2 separate regions of the Homo sapiens genome follow, and region 2 is linked to region 1. Evidence: promoter capture Hi-C in human tissues and cell types (Jung and others, 2019). All regions are on one chromosome and are shown on one strand. Each heading gives the region's core, a stretch centred on a gene start or on the middle of the fragment in contact. The rest is flanking DNA. Distances are from core to core; before and after follow the strand shown.

Region 1 (5,672 bases), core at 2,179-4,678:
CATGTGCTATTTCCTGGGGCCTTCTCTAGGGCTCATTCCCTAGTTGGAGTTAAATTCTGCTTCCAAGGAATCAGCCACCCAAATAACAAACCAGTCCACCTGAGAATCTAGTCTGTGATGCAGCGTCAATAGCTTCTGATGAATTTGCTTCTGACCAGTAGCCTCCAGGGGTCATAAAACATTCACAGAGAGGAACACAGAGAAGGTAATGGGGGTCTGTGTGTGGGCAGGTGGGGTGGGGTGGGTGAAGGAAAAGCTTTTTTTTGGCCACTGTGCTTTTTCCTCAAGCACCGCCCTACCATGGGATGGGGATTTGACTGAACTTCTCACGTCAAGAATGAGTACAGTTTACATAGCTAAGCCTTTATAAACATCCACTTTCCCTCAGGCCTACCCAGGAAGGGTTTGTTATATCTATTTTACAGATGTGGGTCTTCAGGCTCAGAGAAGAGAAGGCATTGTTTGCCCATGAATGTTTGCAAGTAAATAGCAGAGCTGGGACTCAAAGAGTCCGGATCTGGGGCTCCATCATGAATCTCTAAGAGTGGCCCAGAGATTCTCACGTTCCCTAGGTAATCATTCTGGCAGTCTGCTGCCTTTGCACATGCTCTTCTCTCTGCTGAGAATGGCCTTCCCTCAATCCATCTGGTGAACTCCTATTCAGTCTTCCAAACCCTGCTTAGCATGACCTCCCCCTTCCCAGATGCTCTCTCTACTCACTCTCCTTCCCCTGTGGTACAAGTTCTGCACCTGTACAGATTCTTAACCCTCTACGCTTGACTTGGTATTGTTGCTGCTCATTTCCCCTCTTGCTCCTCCTCCAGCTTGGGGCCTCCATGAGGCTAACAATGGGGTCACATGTCTCTGTCCCTGGGAAAGTGGCCAGCATGGGGCTGGCCCAGAGAAGGACAAGGTGGCTGTTTGGTGAGTGTGACCCATGGGCTGAGTAAGGCAGACCCGCAACTGGGAAAAGGCATAGACTGGATGTGCTAAGAAACAAGGAGCTGTGGAGAGACTTTGAGGAGGGAAGTAGCAAAACCCAAAAGGTACTTAAGGAAAGACTGGAAGTATCAGCAGGACGGACTGGAGGGGAAGGAACATTCAACACAGGTAGATTAGCTGCTCACTCATTCGTGCATTCCTTCCCTCCTTCAGTCATTCACCCACGTGCCTCAGCTGCAGAACCTGTCCTCAAGGTGCTCACAGGCTGAGGGAAGGCAGACAGAGGACAAGTGGCAACCTACAAAACACCAAATGGTAAAGGAGAGAAAGATTTCCACTTGGGAGAACCAGGGACACTTCCCGGAGGAGGAAGGACCCATGGTGCTTTTTGGCATGGTGAGGTCGGGGAGGGCTTCCCAGGCAGAGGAGACAAGCTGAGCAAATGTGTGGATGTGAGTTGCTGGTGTGAGGGGCGAGGCTGAGCGTGTAAACTGGTGCCATGAAGAAGGACCGTGATGGCCAGGCTTGGCCCTTACTCCCTCCATGACAATTTCAGACAGATGAGCAGGAGAGTGGCAGGGTGCAGGACTGGAGGACAAAAGACCAGAGGAGATGGAGGCCCTGCAGACAGCAGGGGAGGGAAGGAGGATGAGGTGGTGTAGACAGCGGAGTCAGCAGGACTTGGTCTGTCCAGGGGTGAGGAGAGAGGTGGCCCAAGCTTTCCAGGCTGAGCATAGAGAGACCACAGGAATTGAAGCCTTGGGCAGGGGGGTGCCCAGAATGCACCTGCCTTCTGTTTCAGGGCTCCATACTCAACCAAGGTGCCCCTCAGCCAGAACTGGACACATTGCCAGAGAACTCCAGGGGTCATCTGGTCGGCTCAGCCTCCCGGTTTCCGACAGACAGTAAGCCCACCATGACTCCCTCCATCGGGAAAGGGACCCTCAAGACTTTGATCAGACCTTTGGACTGGGGGTCCTTCCCTTCACTGTGTCTCAAGTAAGGCACTGGTCTAGAGGAAATAAGGTGAAGTCAGATGATAGCAATACCACTACCAGTGCAGTGGCACATGCCTGCACTCCCAGCTACTACGGAGGCTAAGGTGGGAGGATCACTTGAGCCCAGGAGTTTGAGACCAGCATTTATTTATTTACTAACAGACTAAATAAATAAACCAACAATACCACCAACCAGTAAATGAGAACTTCCATGCTAAACACTTCATGAGCTTATCTGGAAATTGCACCTCTCCTGATAGCAATGAGATTGGTGTGGGAATTCCATTTACTCATAAGAAGACAGCCTCGGCCGGGCTCAGTGGCTCACGCCTGTAATCCCAGTACTTTGGGAGGCGAGGTGGGTGGATCACGAGGTCAAGAGTTCAAGACCAGCCTGGCCAAAATGGTGAAACCCCGTCTCTACTAAAAATAAAAATAATTAGCCAGGGGTGATAGCGGGCGCCTGTAATCCCAGCTACTCGGGAGGCTGAGGCAGAGAACTGCTTGAATCCGGGAGGCGGAGGTTACAGTGAGCCGAGATCGTGCCGCTGCACTCCAGCCTGGGCGACAGAGCGAGACTCTGTCTGAGAAAAAAAAAAATTAAAGAAAAAAACGAAAACAGCCTCACTGGCCAGGAACTCGCCCAGGATCGCGGCCGGGCCAGTATACAGTTGAGCTGGTTCAAACCCGAGGTCTATCATGTCCTTAATGTCCTATCATGTCAGTCAGTTAGCCTGCCTTTCATATTTTCCACACTTACAGGTCACCATAGACTCACCTGAACTGTGAGAAGTAGAGGAAGGCGTCCCAGAGGAGGTGATTTTAAAGCCCAGGTTTGAGATGGGTATGCATTTCCAGGCAAGAGAGCCCGGCCGGTGCAAAAGCAAGGCTTGGCTCACAAACGGGAATGTGGGGGGTGGAGACAGGGAAGGGAGAAGTCAATCCCTGGGCAAGACCTCCTGGAGTCTCTCTAACAAATAAATACTACTTTCCATGCAGTAGACGCTGTTCTAAACACTTTACAAATATTAACTCACTTGGTCTTTCTACAACCCTACGAGGTGGTACTGTTACTATCCCTAGTGCACCGAAGTCACCCAGCGGCCGAGTGAGAACTCCAGTCCAGCTTTCCACCCGCTACTCCGCGCATCCCAGCTTGCCTTACAGCCGGGTACCGGCTCCACCATTTTGCTAGAGAAGGCCGCGGAGGCTCAGAGAGGTGCGCACACTTGCCCTGAGTCACACAGCGAATGCCCTCCGCGGTCCCAACGCAGAGAGAACGAGCCGATCGGCAGCCTGAGCGAGGCAGTGGTTAGGGGGGGCCCCGGCCCCGGCCACTCCCCTCACCCCCTCCCCGCAGAGCGCCGCCCAGGACAGGCTGGGCCCCAGGCCCCGCCCCGAGGTCCTGCCCACACACCCCTGACACACCGGCGTCGCCAGCCAATGGCCGGGGTCCTATAAACGCTACGGTCCGCGCGCTCTCTGGCAAGAGGCAAGAGGTAGCAACAGCGAGCGTGCCGGTCGCTAGTCGCGGGTCCCCGAGTGAGCACGCCAGGGAGCAGGAGACCAAACGACGGGGGTCGGAGTCAGAGTCGCAGTGGGAGTCCCCGGACCGGAGCACGAGCCTGAGCGGGAGAGCGCCGCTCGCACGCCCGTCGCCACCCGCGTACCCGGCGCAGCCAGAGCCACCAGCGCAGCGCTGCCATGGAGCCCAGCAGCAAGGTGAGTCGCGCGCCCGCGGGCCCTCCCGCCAGGAACAAAGGCGCAGACTCCTGCCCGCCTTACGCCGGCCAGGGCCTCCCCCGCCGCCCCGCTGCGCTGTGCGCCCGGGGCGGGCCGCGCGCCTCTCCGAGCCTGGCTCGGTGCGGGTCCCGAGCGCAGCGCCCCGCCGGGCCGCTGGCCGCAGTGGGGATGGGCTTCGGATCTAGCGGGCCGGAGGGCGCCGCGTGCGTAGTTGGCGCCGGCACTGAGCACATGGCCTCCTTCCGGGGGCGCCGCGCCGTCCACGCGGCCCTGCTGGGGCTGGGGACACAGGGCCCGGGAGCGGCACGTCGCACACGACCTCGGCAGCAGCAGCCCAGCCTCGGCCCCTCCCGGTGCGGGGGAGGGGGCCCGAGCGCGGCGCCCATTGGCTGAGCGGGCCGAGCCCCCGGCCCGGCCCCGGCCCCGGCGCGCGGAGGAGTCAGGAGCCGCCCCCGCTCTCCGTCTGCTCCCCTAGCCCGGACGCCCCTGTAGGTGGGCGGCCTGGTGCGAGGTGTCCCACCGGCCTCCCCTACTCCTCCCGCCAGTCCCCCGCGGTGACGAGGCCGAGGCCGAGGGGAGGGCACTTTTCTCCAGGCCCGGGCTCGAACGCGGGGGTTGAGATGAACCTCCGGTCTCGGAGGCTCTCCTTTGCGAGGAGTGCAGGCCCCAAAGCTTTGGCCCAGTCTCGCGGAGATGTGTTCCGCGGAGGCAGGTTTACCCTCGGGGCCAGGCGGGGAGCGCAACCGGAGGGGCGGGGGATCTGGGGGCCAGGAAAGAGCCCCAGGCTGAAGTCTAGCGGGAAGCGCGCACGCCACGGGGTTGGGGAATGAGGGATGGGGACTCTGGGGACCAACAACTCCCTAGATAGGATTTCTTTTTTTCTGTGTAAGTGGGCTTGTCCTGCAGGGCATCTTTGTAGCGTCCGCAGAGCGATTTCTTTTCAACAAATTGTTTGTGGAGCCCCTCCTGTGTGTAGGGCATTGTTTCTTTCCACCTCCTTTCCTCCCCCTAGTCTACAATATTTTCAAGTCCCCTTTTTCTTTTGAAACGGTCCCTCTTTATCTATTATACTTTGATTTTTCCATCTCGTCAGCTGGGAGGGCACCTGGATGGCCCTTGTTTTCTTAGCTGGGACGCGGGGGTAGCACTGAATTTTGAACTGCCCTTCCTACTGGCTGTGGAGGTGTCCCGCTGAGACTGAGCGGGGTGGCGCTGGGCCGCACCCTCGGCAGGAAAAGGCCTTCCGCCCCACACCTGTTGAATCCATAAATCCAGACGACTTGGTTCACCCTTCCTGGGCCCTCGCTTGAGGTGAGACCCCGGGGAAGTTCCCGGGGAAGGCTCCCAGGATCTTAGGTGAGCCGTAAGGGTGGGATATAACTAAACAAAAGTTCAGTGAGAAGCTCTTCTAGCTAGTGGCAAGGAAGTCCAAATATCTCAGGGCTCTTGCAGGCCACTTAACTTCTGGGCCTCAGTTTTTCCATCTGAAAGAGATCACTTTTGTCACTTCCTCTAGGGAAGGAACTATCTATTCAGCATACTATGCCAGACATGGGTATTTATTTGTTGAGTGGATAAGGGAATACTACGTGGAGACAGAAAAGTGGAGGAGAAAATCAGCAGGTTCTTAGCCAAACTACTTTAAGCGTCACGGACCTTATAGCCCTGCTGGTTACTCACTAGCCTGGAGCTCAGAGAAGGGAAATAAGTTTGCCAAAGTCACACAGCTAGTAAGTGGTTGAACTGGATTTGAACCCAGGCCCATCAGATTTAATTTCATTTCTGTCTCCACTGTCTCTCTTCACCACAACATTTCTTGAATTTTGGGCAGAAGGGAGAGAGTTTGCCTATCTTCAAAGGTGGCCCCTTGTGCCAGCTGGTTCTAAATAGTGTAGCAGGTGGGTGCTCTTCATGGAGTGTTCTCCAAGTTTTCCACTGTCTACCTCGTCAGTAATTAATGTTGGAACACCTCTTTCACAGTGGTGTATC
Region 2 (5,232 bases), core at 2,500-4,999, 750 kb before region 1:
GCTACTGCACCCGGCCCGTATGGCATTCTTATCAACTGTCTCTTTTTGATCTCAGAGTAATTCCCTTATGCCTAACACTCCCAGCCTAGCATCATCCATCACTTAAAATGCATATCCTTGTTAGTAAGACCTAAAATAAATGCAAAAATAAAACCACAACGTGGCTGGCCGTAGTGGCTCACGCGTGTAAACCCAGCGCTTCGGGAGGCAGAGCTGGGCAGATCACTTGAGCCCAAGAGCTCGAGACCAGCGTGGGCAATATGGTGAAACCACATCTCTATAAAAAACACAAAAAATTAGCTGGGCGTGGTGGTGCGTGAGTGCCTGTGGTACCAGCTATCTGGGAGGCTGAGGTGGGAGGACCACCTGAGCCTGGGAGGTTGAGGCTGCAGTGAATCGTGATCATATCATGCCAGTGCACTCCAGCCTGGGTGATAGAGTGAGTACTTTTCTCAAAAAAAAAAAAAAAAAAAAATCCCACAACGTTGGCATCTTTAGGTAGTGAGATTTAAGACTAGTGATCACCTACCATGAACCAGGTAATATACTAAAGATTAGAAATATTATAACTGTTTTTTATTATTAAACTATTACTTGTATAGATCTACTAATAGCTCAAGACCAGGCTTTTTACACCTATTCCCTCCAATCCTCAGAGCAACCTGGCAAGGTAGGAATTTTTGTCCTCATTTTCCAAATTTGAAAACCAAGAAGACATGACATTCTGAAGCCTATCCAAGGTGACACAATAGAAACTGGCCAGGCTATGACTGAAATCCTGGTCTGCTGCTCATCTAGCCCTAGGAAGCACACAGACATGCCGCTCACATGTTGCACCAGCGTAACTATCCTTCCGTCCAGTCTTACCTCATTCTAACCTTCATCCTGCATAAATATTTTATGACTCTTGTGTAGTAGGCATGGTACTATGGATGCAAACCTCAGAACTCCCCATGTGAGGGAAATAGCTATTCACTATTCTGCCTCTTCCACACAGTGATGTTCCTGAAAGGCAAAGCTGACAAAGTAGTCACTTTCTATCTTCAAATCCTTCAGTGGCACCTAATCACCTTCAGGATAAAGCTCTAACTTCATAACTCACAAAGACCTTCACAATCTATTCTTGACCGATTTCTGCAGCCTCATTTCCCACACACTCCCCCAACAGGCTCCATACTCCTGCCACACCAGTGTCTTTAGGATGTAGCCACATTCTTTGCTTCTAGGCCACAGCACACATTGTTGCCTGTGTGAAAAGCCTTTTAAACCCATATCCACCCAGCTAATAACTACTGATTTTTCAAGATGTAGGTCAGATGTGAACTTCCCTAGAAAACCAGTACTCATATTCCCCACGATATCAGGTGCGCTTTTAGAAGATCCCACAAGACCCTCAACCACAGCCCTTGTTATAATGTATTCTGCTTCTGGTTATAATGTATTCTTTACTTGCTTCTGGTCCTACTAGACTGGAGGTTCTTTGAGGCCAGGGACATGTCCTTCATACCTATCAAGCCACCACCTAGCACAGAGCCTGGCAGAGCTTATGTTCAGTACACATTTGTGGATGATGAGAGCACCTGGTCTAGTAGGAGAGAAAGAAATGTATACACTCACATAAAATATGAAAAATGTGAAAATAAGAGATCGTAGGGATGCTGTCCAAGGGAGAAAAAAGGTGGGGAAATCCAGGGGAACCCTTCTACCTGTATTTCTGAGGGCTCCTTACCTGATTTCTCAAGTTTCTTCTAACCTTGCTGCAGCTGGTTAGAAGCACTGTGATCATGAGTGCTTACTGTGAACCACGTGCTCTGCAAAGCACTTTACATGAACTGACTTGTTTAATTCTCACAACTGCCCCATGCATTTCACTGATGAGGAAACTTAGGCTCAAAAATAAGATTCCTGCTTAATGTCAGACAACTATTAATAGTGGAAGAGCCAAGATCTGAACCCAAATCTGTTTCCTGAACCAGGGCTCCAACCAGCACTGTTTCTATTGTCTGTCAAAAGTGAAACCTCCTCCCCAAATACCAAGTTTGCTAGGTTCAATTAAACCAGTAAGGTTAAACTAAGATTACTTTTTAATTTTAACCATTTGAGTGAAAATGCACCTAAAATTATTACACATTTCCCAATTTCTTATAAATTGAATACCCTGAATATAATTTAACTTTTATTTTTTGCTATCTCAGAACCATTGCTGTATTTGTTACTAAGAATGCTGTAACATAGTAAGTTTTGTAAAAGACATTCCTCAGGAATGACTGTGTCATAACTCGGATGTAACAGATTGCCCTTGTATCAACACCCTTGGCCTGTGAGCATTTACAAGTGCTTGGAAGAGTTTTGACTCTGAATCTACCATTACCCCATGCCTGGTTAGAGCTATTATTTCTTGCTACTGTCAATGTTTGTCTCTAGCAGCCCATCTGATGTGCTACCTCTAATCTTCAATGGGCTGTGATACCCCAGATGAGGTAGTAGTCATTAGTGCTATGCACCAAATATTTCTGGCTCTTTGCTTCCCAGACATATGCTAACACTGAAATTCTCTAACCTTCTTTAAAGTTAGGCATGGCTATGTGACTTGCTTTGGCCAATGAAAATGTGAATGAAAGTGGCATGTGCCATAGTGGGACAGAAACTTGAAAAGCCAGTGTCCACTTGACCACTATCTTTTCATTTAATCAAAATGGTCATGGCAGTACCATATTAAGATGGAGTTTCTATCAGCCTCAGTTCCTGAGTAACTGTGAAGAGTTTCCTGTACACTCATGCTGGACACGTCACATGAATGAGAAGTCAAGTTTTGTTCTGTTACGCCACTGAAGTCTTGAGGTTTTTGTTAGTGCAGCCTAATCCAAGCTATCTATGTCAATACAGATCTCTCAGTAAGGGATTCTCTCACATAAACAACTTTATTTATAGATTTTAATGATAAACATTTTGTTTGGATAAAGAATTATCTCTGCATCCATCCTGATTCAAAGCTATTTTCAATATAAAATATATTTGCCAAGTACCTACTATGTACAAAGTTGGATGATGAAGAGGACAGTCTATGTCTTGAAATAGCTTCAGTCTTATACTGTGGGTAGAAGCAGGATTTAAGGCAATTATCGCAAAAAGGCAGACTCTAATGTTATGGTGGTTTAAACTTAAAGAAGAGAGACAGCTCATCTAGATGGGAAGAAAAAGTACAGATAAGCTTCACAAAGGAAGTTCCGTATCAAATGGCCCTGAAACATACGTAAGAACAATTAAAGTCAAGGAGACTATTTAAGATAGAAAAAGCCAACATGAGCAAAGATACAGAGCACAAACAGCAAAGCACAAAGAGCAAATAGTTCCATTGACCTGGAAAATATAACAGAATGGCAAGAAATCAGTTTGCCCATATTGCCCATGCCAGGCTGGTCTGTGCCTAACGCAACAGATAATGGGGAGCCATTCAAAGTCCTGGCTGGAGAAGTGACAAACTTGGAAGTGATGGCAATACACATGATGGATGGAAGGAAAAAAATGTTAGGGGGTTTCTGTGGTAATTCACAGGAATGGTCCAATGGCCCCAGATCAGTGTGATGACAGTAGGAGTGAAAAGAAGCAGATGCCAGGCTAGGTATGGTGGCTCATGCCTATAATCCCAGCACTTTGGGAGGCTAAGGTGGGCAGATCACTTGAGATCAGGAGTTCAAGATCAGCCTGGCCAACATGGTGAAACCCCGTCTCTATTAAAAATACAAAAATTAGCCGGGTGTGGTGGCACACGCCTGTCGTCCCAGCTACTCAGGAGGCTGAGACGGGAGAATTACTTTAACCCAGGTGGTGGAGGTTGCAGTGGGCTGAGATGGGGCCACTGCACTCCAGCCTGGGCAACAGAGGGAGGCTCTGACTCAAAAATAGAAGCAGATGCCAGAAACAGTGTGGAAGTAGGGTCAACAAGACCTGGCACCCAACCAAAAACACGGGGAGAAAAAAAGAAGAAAAGTAAGAATAAACTTGAGGTGCCGCTTCTGGGTTGAGAGAACTGTTATTCCAAGTAGCTGAGGTGAATCAGAAAAGCGACAATGGGCTAGGTGTGGTGGCTCACGCATATATTCTCAACACTTTGGGAGGCTGAGGTGGAGGATTTCTTTCTTTCTTTTTTTTGACCGAGTTTCACGCTTGTTGCCCAGTCTGGAGTGCACTGGCGCGATCTCGGCTCATTGCAACCTCCACCTCCCGGGTTCAAGCGATTCTCCTGCCTCAGCCTCCCGAGCAGCTGGGATTACAGGCGCCTGCCACCACGCCTGGCTAATTTTTTGTATTTTTTTTTTGGTAGAGACGGGGTTTCATCATGTTGGCTAGGCTGGTCTCGAACTCAAGGTGGGAAGATTTCTTGAGCCCAGGAGTTCAAGAACAGCCTGGGCAACATGACAAGACCCTGTCTCTACAAAAAAAATTTTTTTTAATTCTCCAGGTCACCTGCCTGTGGTCCCAGCTACTTGGGAAGCTGAGGTGGGAGGATCGCCTGAGTCCAGAAAGTCAAGGCTGCAGAGAGCCACATTCACTGCACTCCAGCATGGGTGACAGAGGGAGACCCTGTCTCAAAAAAAAAAGAAAAAAGAAAAAGTGACAATGACAAGTAAAGTGTTACTGTATTCCTGATAGTTAGCTACAGCTTCCTTTGAAGTAAATTCTATTACTTGTTTACTCTTTGCACCACACAGGACAAAGGTACCTCTTGGATTAATGCCATCAACCTACCTTTTGTGCAACCTCATATCCTGCTTTTTCTGCTAAGAAACCCCCTGGAACCACCCATGAGCATCTCAGGTTCCCCTGCACCTTTGTCATCCTCACTTTCTCATCTGCTCACTTCTTCCCCTTCATACAGCCGGCTACCCACTCTTCATGACCCAATTCAAGCCTCAGCTTCCCTGTGAAACCTTCCTCAAACACATGGATTTCTCCTTTTCTCGGTTTCTCAGAGTACCTACCATCTTGGAATTCTAGAGACCATATCACAGTTATCATTGTCATGTGTGTGCTTTATTCCCTCAAGTATATTATAGGCCCATTAGAGCAAGTTTCTTATCTTAAATGGTTTTGAGTTTCCCCTCAGTCAATGCCTTGCATAAAATATGTACTCAAGAGGCGTTCCATTGATTGATACAAAGTCTGTTAGTCTCTGAGAACATGAATGTCTTGTTTCATCGTTAACATTTTATTTTTATTAAACCATGGTTA

Evidence for each region. The method cuts DNA at HindIII sites, captures the fragments that hold promoters and counts their contacts. A contact is called where the count stands out against the background at its distance.
Region 2: a fragment that was not itself captured here is called in contact with the fragment with the promoter of SLC2A1 in region 1 in 1 of the 25 tissues and cell types used here (spleen).

What each region holds. Positions count from the first base shown.
Region 1 is chr1:42,956,624-42,962,295 of GRCh38, reverse strand. It overlaps SLC2A1 (solute carrier family 2 member 1), which reads left to right and starts at 3,428. Exons shown (of 10, transcript NM_006516.4): 1 at 3,428-3,662. The coding sequence starts at 3,645. It overlaps SLC2A1-DT (SLC2A1 divergent transcript), which reads right to left and starts at 3,247. Exons shown (of 4, transcript NR_033967.1): 1 at 2,719-3,247. RefSeq lists silencers at 3,072-3,255, 3,128-3,537, 3,668-4,307. The HindIII fragment of the contact is 6,533 bases long and covers 959-5,672 here.
Region 2 is chr1:43,708,766-43,713,997 of GRCh38, reverse strand. The region is part of intron 1 of ST3GAL3 (ST3 beta-galactoside alpha-2,3-sialyltransferase 3); the gene reads right to left. ST3GAL3-AS1 (ST3GAL3 antisense RNA 1) reads left to right here. Exons shown (of 4, transcript NR_125986.1): 4 at 4,463-4,606. Among named protein-coding and RNA genes, the nearest start is that of ST3GAL3, 3.8 kb to the right of the region's middle. The HindIII fragment of the contact is 7,412 bases long and covers 44-5,232 here.